2 separate regions of the Homo sapiens genome follow, and region 2 is linked to region 1. Evidence: promoter capture Hi-C in human tissues and cell types (Jung and others, 2019). All regions are on one chromosome and are shown on one strand. The core of a region is centred on a gene start or on the middle of the fragment in contact, and the rest is flanking DNA. Distances in the headings are between cores, read along the strand shown. Region 1 holds the start of CASD1 (CAS1 domain sialic acid O acetyltransferase 1). Region 2 has its middle 22 kb from the start of PPP1R9A.

The links. Contacts are between HindIII fragments. The study calls those that stand out against the background at their distance.
Region 2: a fragment that was not itself captured here is called in contact with the fragment with the promoter of CASD1 in region 1 in 2 of the 25 tissues and cell types used here (H1 embryonic stem cells and mesenchymal stem cells).

What each region holds. Positions count from the first base shown.
Region 1 is chr7:94,506,549-94,512,527 of GRCh38, forward strand. CASD1 (CAS1 domain sialic acid O acetyltransferase 1) reads left to right here and starts at 3,261. Exons shown (of 18, transcript NM_022900.5): 1 at 3,261-3,669. The coding sequence starts at 3,537. RefSeq lists enhancers at 2,546-3,534, 3,535-4,521 and silencers at 3,055-3,274, 3,315-3,464, 3,565-3,924. The HindIII fragment of the contact is 12,724 bases long and covers 1-5,979 here.
Region 2 is chr7:94,882,922-94,888,900 of GRCh38, forward strand. No RefSeq gene overlaps it. Among named protein-coding and RNA genes, the nearest start is that of PPP1R9A, 22 kb to the right of the region's middle. The HindIII fragment of the contact is 4,674 bases long and covers 1,224-5,897 here.

The DNA.
Region 1 (5,979 bases), core at 2,011-4,510:
ATGCCTGTAATCCCAGCACTTTGGGAGGCCGAGGCGTGTGGATCACCTAAGGTCAGGAGTTGGAGGCCAGCCTGGCCAGCACGGTAAAACCCCGTCTCTACTAAACATACAAAAATTAGCCAGGCGTGGTGGTGCACACCTGTAGTCCCAGCTACTCGGGAGACAGGCAGGAGAATCATTTGAACCTGGGAGGCAGAGGTTGCAGTGAGCCAAGATCACACCACTGCACTCTAGCTTGGGCGACAGAGTGAGACTCCATCTCAAAAAATAAAAATAAAAATAAAAATAATGCATAGGTTGAGAGAGTTTCTGTCAGATGGTTTCTGTCTCTCTCTTTTTAAAATATTATTAAGGTGTGAGGTAACATGCTGAGCATTAGTAAACATTCTGGATAGCTCAGGGGTCAGGAAATAAACGTGGAGCCACTAACTAGTTTTTAGCAGGAAATGACATTACGAGATTTTAATTTAAGAAAGTTCTGTCTGGTAAGAGGTATGGCAGAATGGCAGTAGGGTTGGATTTTCGAGTGACCTGAGAAAGACGAGTAAAAGGATAAGAAATGCAGGCAAGAAATCATCCCTTAACCAAGGTAACAGCAAGTGGATAGAGAGGGGGCAACACAGTTGAGAGTTATTTAGAAGAAAGCAAGGATGACTCAAACACTTGCTTGGACGGCTGGGTTAATGATGAAAACTTAGGCATAAAGGTTGAAAGTAGATAAAGGAGAAGGAAGGTGATGAGTTTGTTTAGGAAATGATATATATTAGGTACCTGAAGGATATCCTAGTAGGCAGATGGTTCTTACAGCATGAGGATAGATAAATATGGACTGACATATCAGGTGTGTGTGTGTGTGTGTGCGCGCGCGTGTGTATAAGGAAGGTGATCCCATGGCAGTGGTGGGACCACTAAATAATGACTAAGTGATCCTAAGGTCACTTAAAAACAGCAAGAAGTGGCTGAAAACAAAGTCTCCGCTCTGTTTTAGATGGATACCAAATAAGGAAGAATGGTCAACAATGTCAGGTGCCACAAAATGGTCCAGGAAGATAAGGAATATAAAGTGTCCCTTGGATTTAACAAGTAGTCATACCACACAGCCTTGGTGAAGAACAATGAAATGGCTGAAGAGAGAATGCTAATTGAGCCAGTGAAGGCAGAGAGTCAACACTGCTCTTTCTAGATGTTTGCCAGAGGAGGAAAGAGTTGATGAGGTAAACATGCAGGAACAGAGTCCATGGGTGTTTTTCATTAAAAAAAAATTTTTTTTGGAGGAAGGCAAACAGCAAGGTGATAGGGAGAATTGGAAGACACAGAAAAAGAATGATTTGCATGGGGATAACTGATGGAGGAATCAACACCCTCAAGAAAGGAGGATAAGAAAAGATTCAGAGCAGAGGTAGAGAGATTGGCCTTAAACTTGAGAGAAGAAAAAGGAGGTTCACAAGCTATTTACAGTATTTAAGAAAGCCTTCTGGAAATTGCAATTAATAGAATGTCAAGTTTCTTTACTTTTTGCAGGCATTAACTCAACCCTTTGGGTTAACACTGGTTATTGCATGCTGATCAGAAATTCTAATTTGCTGGTAATGACATCATAGAAATGTCTAGGATGTGATTGGCAGACCATATATTGTTGGCAGAGTTATCTGGTTTTTACAATACCCAATTCTTACAACATGTGATCAACCTCTGATCAGAATGACAGCCAAAATTAAAAGACTATTTGCAGGGAACAGTGCCTAAGTGTTTGTACACTTATTTAACTTTATTGCTTATTAGCATTACATCCATGACAGTGATGTATGTGATTTCATTTAAGTGACAAAATCTTTCAAGATATAAAGTCCATGGATGAAAACATAATAAAGAGTCCTTGGATGAAGAGAATGGGAATGAGTAGACAAGATCTCTACAGTCCCTTCATATCTAATATTCTATAATTTTAAGAGGGGCCTATAAGCACAAGTTCAGGAATGGCTAAATGGGAAAGTTGTAAAGAATACTTGACAACACCCCAACTAAACAATGACTCACTCTAAACAAGGCAAGGCAAGTAGAATGGCAAGCAATGTAAATAACCATTCCCATCTGGAAGGCAACAAGAAAAACCATTTAAAAAAGGTGGGGTGGGAGCGAGAGGAGAGTAGGGATAACAATGCTTTATTAAGGAAATGGAGTGCTGGCTTTATTGAGAATCACAAAACATTAACCAACGTTAGTAGCGGGGATGATTGTCATAAGCACATTAAGAAAAATTTTTTTTGGCTAGGCTTGGTGGCTCATGCCTGTAATCCCAGCACTTTGGGAGGCCGAGATGGGCAGATCATTTGAGGTCAGGAGTTCGAGACCAGCCTGACCAAAATGGTGAAACCCCCGTCTCTATTAAAATACAAAAATTAAACGGGTGTGGTGGCGGGCGCCTGCAATCTCTGCTACTCGGCAGGCTCAGGCAGGACAACCATTTGAACCCAGGAGGGGGAGGCTGCAGTGAGCGAAGATCACGCCACTGCACTAGAGCTTGGGCGACAGGGTGAGACTCCCTCTCAAAAAAAACGAATTTTTTTGGCACATCGACCTAGCCAAACTTGCGTAAATACAAGTGAGAGTCAGACTCTTTTCTCATCAACACCTACACTAAGTTAGGCTCCTTCTGTACCTTCCATTCGGAACTTTGGTGTACTTTCGCCCACCAGAACTGGGCAAACTGAGGACATTAAAAAAACGGTTTAAGAGAAACTGGCCAGAGCGGTGAGTTAAGTGTTAAGACTGGTTTCACTCCTGGGTTGGATGCCAGCAATCCATCGGCCAGCACCATCAACTGGATCCATCAATCCAATCTGGCCAGCACCCAGGGGCAGCCAGACTGACCAGCCAGGCCACGGATAGCCAGACAATAAACGACCTTAGGGTGTCCTTCGCATCCCGCTGGGCGGGTTCTGGCAGTAGAAGGCTGAGAAAGGGGAGTGTTGGGGAAGGAAGGAATGGGACGATGTGTACTTTTCTCCCGGAACTGTAGTTCTATTGCCCCAACCTGGGCTCAGGTAGCGGCCAGTAAACTAGGAGACAGCCCTAAGGCTCGCGTCCGGGCCAGGCGGGTACCCCTAGTACTCTCTCCCCACACCCCCATGGCTCTGCCGCAGCCGCCGCCGCCCGCCGGGGCGCGTGACCCGGTGACCCCGGAGCACTGGGCATCCGGACCCCCCTCGCAGGCGCAGCCGCTATTAAGGCAGGAGGCTAAAGAGGAGGAGGAAGGGGAGGAGACAGGCGTCCAGGGCGCCTGGGGAACCGGCACGGCGGAGCAGCGGCGGCGGGGCTGGGGGGAGGCCGCCGAGTCGGCCGCGGCCGAGGAGGGGCAGGCGGAGGTCGGGGGCGCCGCGGCCGCGGGGTCAGGTTCCCCGGCGGGAGGCGCAGGTGGCGGCCTGGGGAGCTGGCGGCCGCTCCTCGCCTGGCTGCAGCGGCGGCAGCCCCAGTGCTGCCCCTGTGCGGCGCCCCTTTCCCGCTCCGCCGCGCACTGTTGTCATGGAGGAACCAAGATGGCGGCTCTGGCCTACAACCTGGGCAAGCGGGAGATCAACCACTACTTCAGCGTGAGGAGCGCCAAGGTGCTGGCGCTGGTGGCCGTGCTGCTGCTCGCAGCGTGCCACCTCGCCTCCCGCCGCTACCGAGGTGAGCGGGCCCTCCCCTCTGCCCGGGCAGGCCGTGGGGGAGGCGGCGACGCGGCGGCTGGAGGCCGCCCCCATCGCCCAACACACGCCCACGCGGCCTTCCGCCGGCCCGGCCCGCGGGGGAGGCGGTTCCCCCAGGTGTCCCCAGCAGCGGCCGGCGCCCGAGGCCAACTGAGTGGACCCCAGTGGGGGCCACCAAAGGACAATGGCTGGTGGTTCTGGGCGCCCCGAGCCGCCCGCGCTGGGGTCGGGGGCGCCAACCCTGGACCTGGCCAAAAGTGCTGCTGAGGTCCGGCTCCTGAGCGGTCTGGGTTCGGGGAGACGCTCCAGATCAGGGGCTCGCGTGCAGGAAGTCGGACAGGCGGTCCTTGGGGGCAGCCCGGGGCGCATGAAGCCCAAGGCCGCCCTGCAAGGGGCACCGCTGCCAGCAGTGGGGTCGCAGGTCCTGCCTCTTAAGGGTCCGGCTCCTTAGCCTTTGTTTAATTTTGCCTCTGCCCTGTAACACCCAGTCTGGGCTGTTGGACAGCGGCAAGGGCCGCCCCCATTTTCCTTTGCCAAAAGGGCGACAGCTGGCAAAAGATGCCTGTGGCCAAATGGAAGAGGTGCCACCCAGCTTTTGTGATGCAGAAACGTTTAAAGGCTTCGGAGTGCACACTTTTTACAAAGTTAAGGCACCAGAGCAGATTTTTGGAAGGAAGTTGTGGGTTGACAGGCGTAAAGGTGGGCAGTTGAAAGCAAGTTGTAAGCACTTTGAAAGCAGGCCTTGGCCATGGGTTTTGAAATTGGTGTAAAGGGGAAAAGGAAATATGACCTGATTTGAGAATGAATTATCTTTCAGTAATCAAGGGATATTTACTTCTCCTTGCTGATTGATTGTTTTTTTTCCTTTGTAAAAATGTCACTGGGAGAGAGGCTGACAGGCAGAGGGAAATTAATAATGATAGGATCTTTTATTTTTGGCTCTTAATACTATCAAAGCCATTATCTGGCCAGCTCTTGGTGACTGTGAGATTAATCAGTCAAGATGTAATGTGTAATGGACAGGTGCAAATTAGCGCTGTGCCCGTTTAAATTTACACCTACTTTGGCAAAATATCCATAAACGGGTTGTTGGAGTCTGCGCTGTATTCTCATCCCAGGAGATCTTTCAATTTTGGTCAGTTTTGCTGCTTTATTTCTTCCAACTCTTGAGAATTAAAAATATTGTACTCTAGAGCCATACTGGGTGAACAGCTTTTAGTATACTAAATTGATTTTAAAAATTAGATTCTTTATAACCTTTTGGCCTCTCTCCAGCTCTCTCCAGATCACAGCCATACGACCTTGCAAGGCCTTGGTTTATCTACAATCATGTAAAACTAGCAATGTTGATGCATTGATTTGTGGTGGTTTTGAGGAAATATTTCTTTTAACTACTATTAATCATTTTATGCCAATTTGGTATAAAAGAACAGTAATTTAATTCAATTTATGTAATGGTAGTAGAGAGAAATTTTATAACTACAGTACTATTGTCCTAAGATAAATAAACATCTAGTCCCCTTCCTTTTATTTTTTTGTGCTTTTTATCTTTTGATAACCTTGGACTACTATTATTTTTAGATTATAGATTTCATCTTATCAAGATCTGTCATCAGCAGGGAGAATAGAATGTCAGATGGGGACTTATGAGTCAGTGTAGCAATCTGGGATTGTTTATAAAGCCTTCTCCAGAAGTAAGTCATCAGTTTCCATAGGTACTTCAGTGCCTTGAGTGTGAAGCATACACCTGGTGAGTGTACTTGCCCAGACTGAATGTCAAGAATTTGAGCTGAAGACTGGGAAAAATAAACATCTTACCAGGAATATCCTCATGCTTTGGCAGTATCAAACTGAGTCAGGTGCAATGCCCTTCACACAAAGATAATCATACATTTGACTCACATTATAACTCTTTAGGACAGAGGTGGCCAATCTTTTGGCTTCCGTGGGCCCCATTGGAAGAAGAAGAACTGTCTTTGGGCCACACATAATATTAACACTCATGATAGCTGATGAGCTTAAAAAAAATTGCAAAAAATCTCGTATCATTTAAAGAAGGTTTACGAATTTGGGCTGCATTCAAAGCCATCCTGGGCCTCCAGCAGCCCAGGCCATGGCTTGGAAAATCTTGCTTTAGAATAAGAAAGGATCTTACATTAGATGAAGGAGATTAGGCTGTGTATTTGGATTTTGAATGTGTGAGTATGAGTGTGCTGAGGCAAGGTAGAGTGAATGCAGTTTGGATATACATATTCAGTATCTCTTGCTTTACAAACTACCGAAAGTAAAG
Region 2 (5,979 bases), core at 2,311-4,810, 380 kb after region 1:
TAAATTTCTCTTCAAAGAATCAATATGTCAGTATGTTCAATTCTTTGCCTTCTACTTTTAAACTTTATTTCCTCATAAAGCAACATTTTTCGGTTACCTGCTCCACCCTGACTCATTCCGATTACCTGCTCCTCCCTGACTCATTCTGATTACTTGCTCTGTCCCAACTCATTCTGACCACAGAATGACAGAGAAATGATGTTAGCTTTCTAAAGCTCTAAGGAGGAGTTCAGGAGCATATTTGCCTATTATCAGAACCTAGAGTAATTAGTATTTAAGTTTCTTTTTTTAGTATAGGACAGTCCCTTTTGCAATGTCCTGACCTTCTACTACATTATCTACAAGCATTTTGAGATGAATTTTGAGATTGGTAAGAAACATAGGTGGGCTTTGCATTACCTCTAGAGCTGCATTTCTGTTTTTGTAAAGACTCAATTAGTAAGACAAGAACTGTTGTTTTTAACTCTTGAAAGAATTGGTTGACAAAATCAATGATAACCTTGCCTGTCCATCCAACTACACACTACAGATGGTCCCTGACTTACTGTTGATGGCTGTTGTGAATCCTAGGTTCTTGTCTTCTTAGTTTAAAAGAATTTCAACAAAAGACACACAGCAAGGGAGATATTGCATAGAGCAATTTATTGCAAAGGAGAAAGAATACTCTGAAAGTTAGGTTCAGAATAGACAGTATACCCTAAGAGGCAATTCAGAGGGGACTGCTCATGAGGATGAGACAGCATTGACCATTACTAAGGAAACTCCCTTTATGGAGGCTTACATGATTATTCATAAGGGGGTGGGAAGAGGTTGCTAGGAAGCATGTTTTGGGTGGTCCTCTGGGTGCACATGCACAGTAGCTGTACATGCTTGTTTATACATCACATGTCTCATTAATATTTTAAAGCTCCACCCAGGGGTGTGATTTTTACTGTTATAATAAGCAAAGGGTCAGTCTGATGACTGGTCAAATCACAATGCACATGCTCTCTACAGGGGAGGTTTCCTACTGGAGATAGTTTTGCTTGAATGAGCTTGACTACAATGCAAACACTGGGCTTATTGGGGCGGCATTGTTGCTGAATCCTGAGGACATAGTTACTTTCTTGACTACCTGGTTACTATCCTGCCTCATTACAATGTTTCCATTTCGGATTTTTCAACTGTATGATGGTGTGAAAGTCATACAGTCAGTGGAAACTGTACTTCAAGTGTTGAATGATCTTTTTCAGGGCTAGCAATATGCTACTCTTGTGGTGTAGGGCATCAACAGCAAGTGTCAGCACCCAGTCGGTCACACAATCACAAGGATGACCACAACTGATACTCCACAGGTGAGGAATAAAGAGAACTTTCATCTGAGGAATATGAGCCCTTTCCTATTATTAGGCCCAGAGAGGCATTAAAATGAGACAGCAATCACTCCCTCCTCCACCTTTGAGCTATGTATTCATCTCTTGAAACTTCTGGCTATTGCCACAAGTAGCTATAAATTAGCCCAATAATGCCACAGTGGACACGCTAACCCATACCCTATAGCTTAACAATGTACAATCACTAATCAATGTTATTTCTATAAACCAATGAGAATTTCTGAACAAACAAATTTGTATCAGCCCGCTCCCTGTGCCCATCTTTTTTTTTTTTTTTTGCCTTTAAAAATCCACTTGTAACTGCTACTGATCAGAGTGTATATTCAGGGCAATCTGAATCTATGCTCCTGTATTGCAATCCTCAAGGCTGGCCAAATAAACTCTACTTATATTAATTTTGCCTCAGCTTCTTCCTTTTATTTTATTTTTTTGAGATGGAGTTTTGCTCTTGTTGCCCAGGCTGGAGTGCAATGGCACCATCTCAGTTCACTGCAATCTCCGCCCCCTGGGTTCAAGTGATTCTCCTGCCTCAGCCTCCCGAGTAGTTGGGATTACAGGTGCCTGCCACCATGCCTGGCTAATTTTTTGTATTTTCGGTAGAGATGGTGTTTCACCATGTTGGTCAGGCTGGTCTTGAACTCCTGACCTCAGGTGATCCAGCCGCCTCAGCCTCCCAAAGTGCTAGGATTACAGGTGTAAGCCACCGTGCCGGCCAGCTTCTTCCTTTTAGGTCAATATAAGGTACTTTGTTGACAGATGATTTTGCCCAACTGTAGGCTTATATAAGTGTTCTGAACGTGATTAAGGTAGGCGAGGCTAGGCTTTGATGTTCATATGATGATAGTGTTAGGTATATTAAATGCATTTTTGACTTAGGATATTTTCCACTTATAGTGAATTTGAGACGTAACCCCATTGTAAGTTGAGGAGCATCTGTATTTTGCTTTTGTCTTTTGAGAGAAGATTGCAAACTAAGGCAGAAATTAAGCAATTCCTATGTTCTGGAACCTGTGGATTTACTGCAATGTACCTTTAGAATTGCGCCAGTGGAGAATTTGTATCCATATGGGGTCTGCAGCAACCTCAATTCTTGCCTCCCCAGAAGAAAGAATTTGACTGAGGGACGTAAGTCAGGAAGAGAGACTGAGGCAAGTTTTAGAAAAGGAGTGAAAGTTTATTGAAAAGCTTAAAGCAGGAATGAAAGGATGTAAAGTACAATTGTAAGAGGGCCAAGGGGGTGACTTGAGAGATCAAGTGCATAGCTTGACCTTTTGACTTGGGGTTTTGTACACTGGCATACTCCTGGGGTCTTGCATCCCTTCTCCCCTGATTCTTCCTTTGGGGGTAAGCTGTCCACATGTGCAGTGGGTGGCCTGCCAGCACTTGGGAGGGGAGCATGTACAGTGTGTTTACTGGAGTCGTATGCATGCTCACTTGGGGCATTCTTCCCTTACCAGCAAATGCTCCTAGAAGGTCATATACCAGTTAAACTCCACCATTTTGCCTCTTAATGTGCATGTGTGAGCCCACTTGCCCAATTCCTGAGATCTTATTGGGAAGCTGCTGATCACTAGTTTCAGATTTTTTCTGACTATAGGGAGGCTGCCTTTCCCTGGCGCTGGCTACGGGCCAGTCATTATTGTAGAGTCAGTTAACAACTGCCTAACCATCACCTGATGGTTGCCTGACATTCCTGGTCAGGCAGAGCCCTCTCTCACCCTGCTCATGCCTGACTAGCTACCTACTGTAACAGAATGTTTTTATAAATTGGCTGGGTGCGGTGGCTCACACCTATAATCCCAGCACTTTGGGAGGCTGAGGCAGGTAGATCGCTTGAGCTCAGGTGTCAAGTCCAGCCTGGGCAACATAGTGACACGCTATATCTACAAAAAAAAATACAAAAATAGCCAGGCATGGTGGTGCACTCCTGTAGTCCCAGTTATTTGGAGGGATGAAGTGGGAAGATCACTTGAGCCCAGGAGGTTGAGGCTTCAGGGAGCCATGTTCATGTTACAGTATTCTAGCCTGGGTAAGAAAGTGAGACCGTCTCAAGAAAAAAAAAAAAAAAAAGAATGTTTTTGTAAATTGTTGAATGAAGTCTTTAGGTTGTTCACCTTCTTCTCCTCCTCCTCCTCTTCTTCTTCTTCTTTTCTTCTATTCTTCATCTCCCCCTCCCCCTCCCTCTCTTCCTCCTCTTCCTTCTTATTCTTATTCTTCTTCCTTCTCCTCTTCTTTTTTTGAGACAGGGTCTCACTCTGTTGCCCTGGATGGAGTGCAATGGCAAAATCACTGTTCACTGCAATCTTGACCTCCTGGGCTCACGCAATCCTCTCACCTCAGGCACACAAGTAGCTGGGACTACAGGTATGTAGGAGGTGAGTGGTACAGGTATGTACCACTACTCCTGGAAGATTTTTTATTTTTTTTGTAGAGACAGGGTCACTATGTTGCCTAGGCTGGTCTCAAACTCCTGGGATCAAGTAATCCTCCTGCCTCAGCATCCCAATGTGCTGGGATTACAGGCATGAACCACCACACTCAGCTTGATGTTCACCTTCTTTCTAAGTGAAGAATTCAACCTTAGAGGGAGAAATCCTCACAATCACGCTTATTAAGCTTTGAATGTCAGTCTCCAACTGTGTCAATTCCTGGTCATTCATGGGGGTCCAAGGAGGGGTACTAGCCATCTGTTTCCCTGTTGAAGAGGATTTTCCCCAGAGGGCCGCCTGGCTTGTTGAATAACTACAATATAATCATGAGTGGGAAGAAAACCTCTTGGAAACCTGTTGTGGGCCCTATGAGTCAAGCTATGGACAGCCACGATTCTTTCTACATACTTTCTAAATTTGATAGAATTTTCAGAAAGTGGAGGTAAGAGGGATATAAAATTTAAAAGACCTGCTACTGTCCAGGGTAAACGAATTCTTCATGGTGGGAATCCAGGATACATTCACAATGCATATTGCATGGGAAGACCTGGAGCTGATGGGATCTGATTACGGAGTCCTAGGAAGAAGGTGGGATTATAAGGGAAAGTAAAATAAGTCTTGCTGAGCATTCACAGAGCCTCTGCCAGAACTATCTGTGGTTATTGTCATTTACATAGTAATGTGTATGTCTACACCTGTAGGTCAGGCTAGAGTACTTTTTGCAATTCTTGCGAAGAAAGAGAAGTTAAAGTGGACAGTTGAGTGATTGAGGGATTTTCTGGGAAAATCAGAGGAGTTTCAGGAATTAAAGTAATTTTTGTGGAGGTAGGGCCAGATCATGGAGAGGAGAATTTGAGGCAGAGATCCAGAGATTCAAAAAAATCTTCTATAGGGTCGGGGAAAGGGAGTTGGAGTAAAGGGAAGTATAGGAGGGAGGTGAGAGGAGGAATTTACAGTGGGTGTGGAATTTAACTTTCAGGCCGGGTGCAGTGGCTCACGCCTGTAATCCCAGCACTTTGGGAGGCTGAGGTGGGTGGATCACAAGGTCAGGAGTTCAAGACCAGCCTGGCCAAGATGCTGAAACCCCATCTCTACTAAATATACAAAAATTAGCTGGGCGTGGTGGCACGAGCCTGTAATCCCAGCTACTTCGGAGGCTGAGGCAGGAGAATCGCTTAAACCCAGGTGCCAGAGGTCACAGTGAGCCAAGATCAAGCCACTGCACTCCAGCCTGGGCAACAGAGCAAGACTTCGTCAAATAAATAAATAAATAAAAATAATAAAAACTTTTAAATCTGATTTCTGCTCTTTAATCTTGTTAAGAAAGTCTTTTAGGCTAGCCACGGTGCTTTTTTGCATCCTCTTTCAATTTGATCCTCCCATAGGTACAAATAGGACATTTGTTTAGGGTGAGAGCTAAATCCTTTTAAAAGGATTTAAAGTTCTTTAAAAATAGATACCTCCAAAGGCGTATCTATTCTTAATGTGACTCAAAACCAATAAGCCTTTTTATGACTTAACCATGGTCACAAGAGGGATTCCCAAAGAGAATGCAGAAGATATAGCTCTCATGATCCAAAGGCTTTCCCAAAGATAGCTAAAAAGAACTAAAGCAAAGGACTTCATTGCCACAGGCAGTGAAGAATGGTGTTTGTGAAAAGTCATGTCTCCAGTCTCCCAAATAGTGAGATGCTGCCAATCACAGCCCAGCTAATCCATGAGACTGACACCAGGCAGGCAATACAGAGATGGGACTTCCCCAGTACTGACAAGGCAATGTGGGAAGAGACAAGGGCTCCTTATGGACTAGGGCCCTTTATTTAGACTAATTCTTTGAATGCAAACTGCAGGAGGGAAAAAACAAAATTATTTAGACTAATTCCTCTGAGAGCTGGCATAGTCAGACAGAAACGGTTGCTTGTGCACCTTGTGTCTTGGGTGCCCTATCCTGATAGCTAGTCATTGCTAGACAAAGGCCCAAGAACCTGTGCCTGCTACTCTCCTCCCCCTGCAGGCAGAACACCAGAGAGAGAACACTCTCTGGATCCAAGCCAAGCTCTCAGAACACAAAACAAGGAAGGAGAACATTATCCGGTATTTTTTAATCAGTGACCCACGACAAAGTTTGTCAACGTGAATGCTGGGTTGGTGAGAACTATAAATTCACCAGTCTGTGA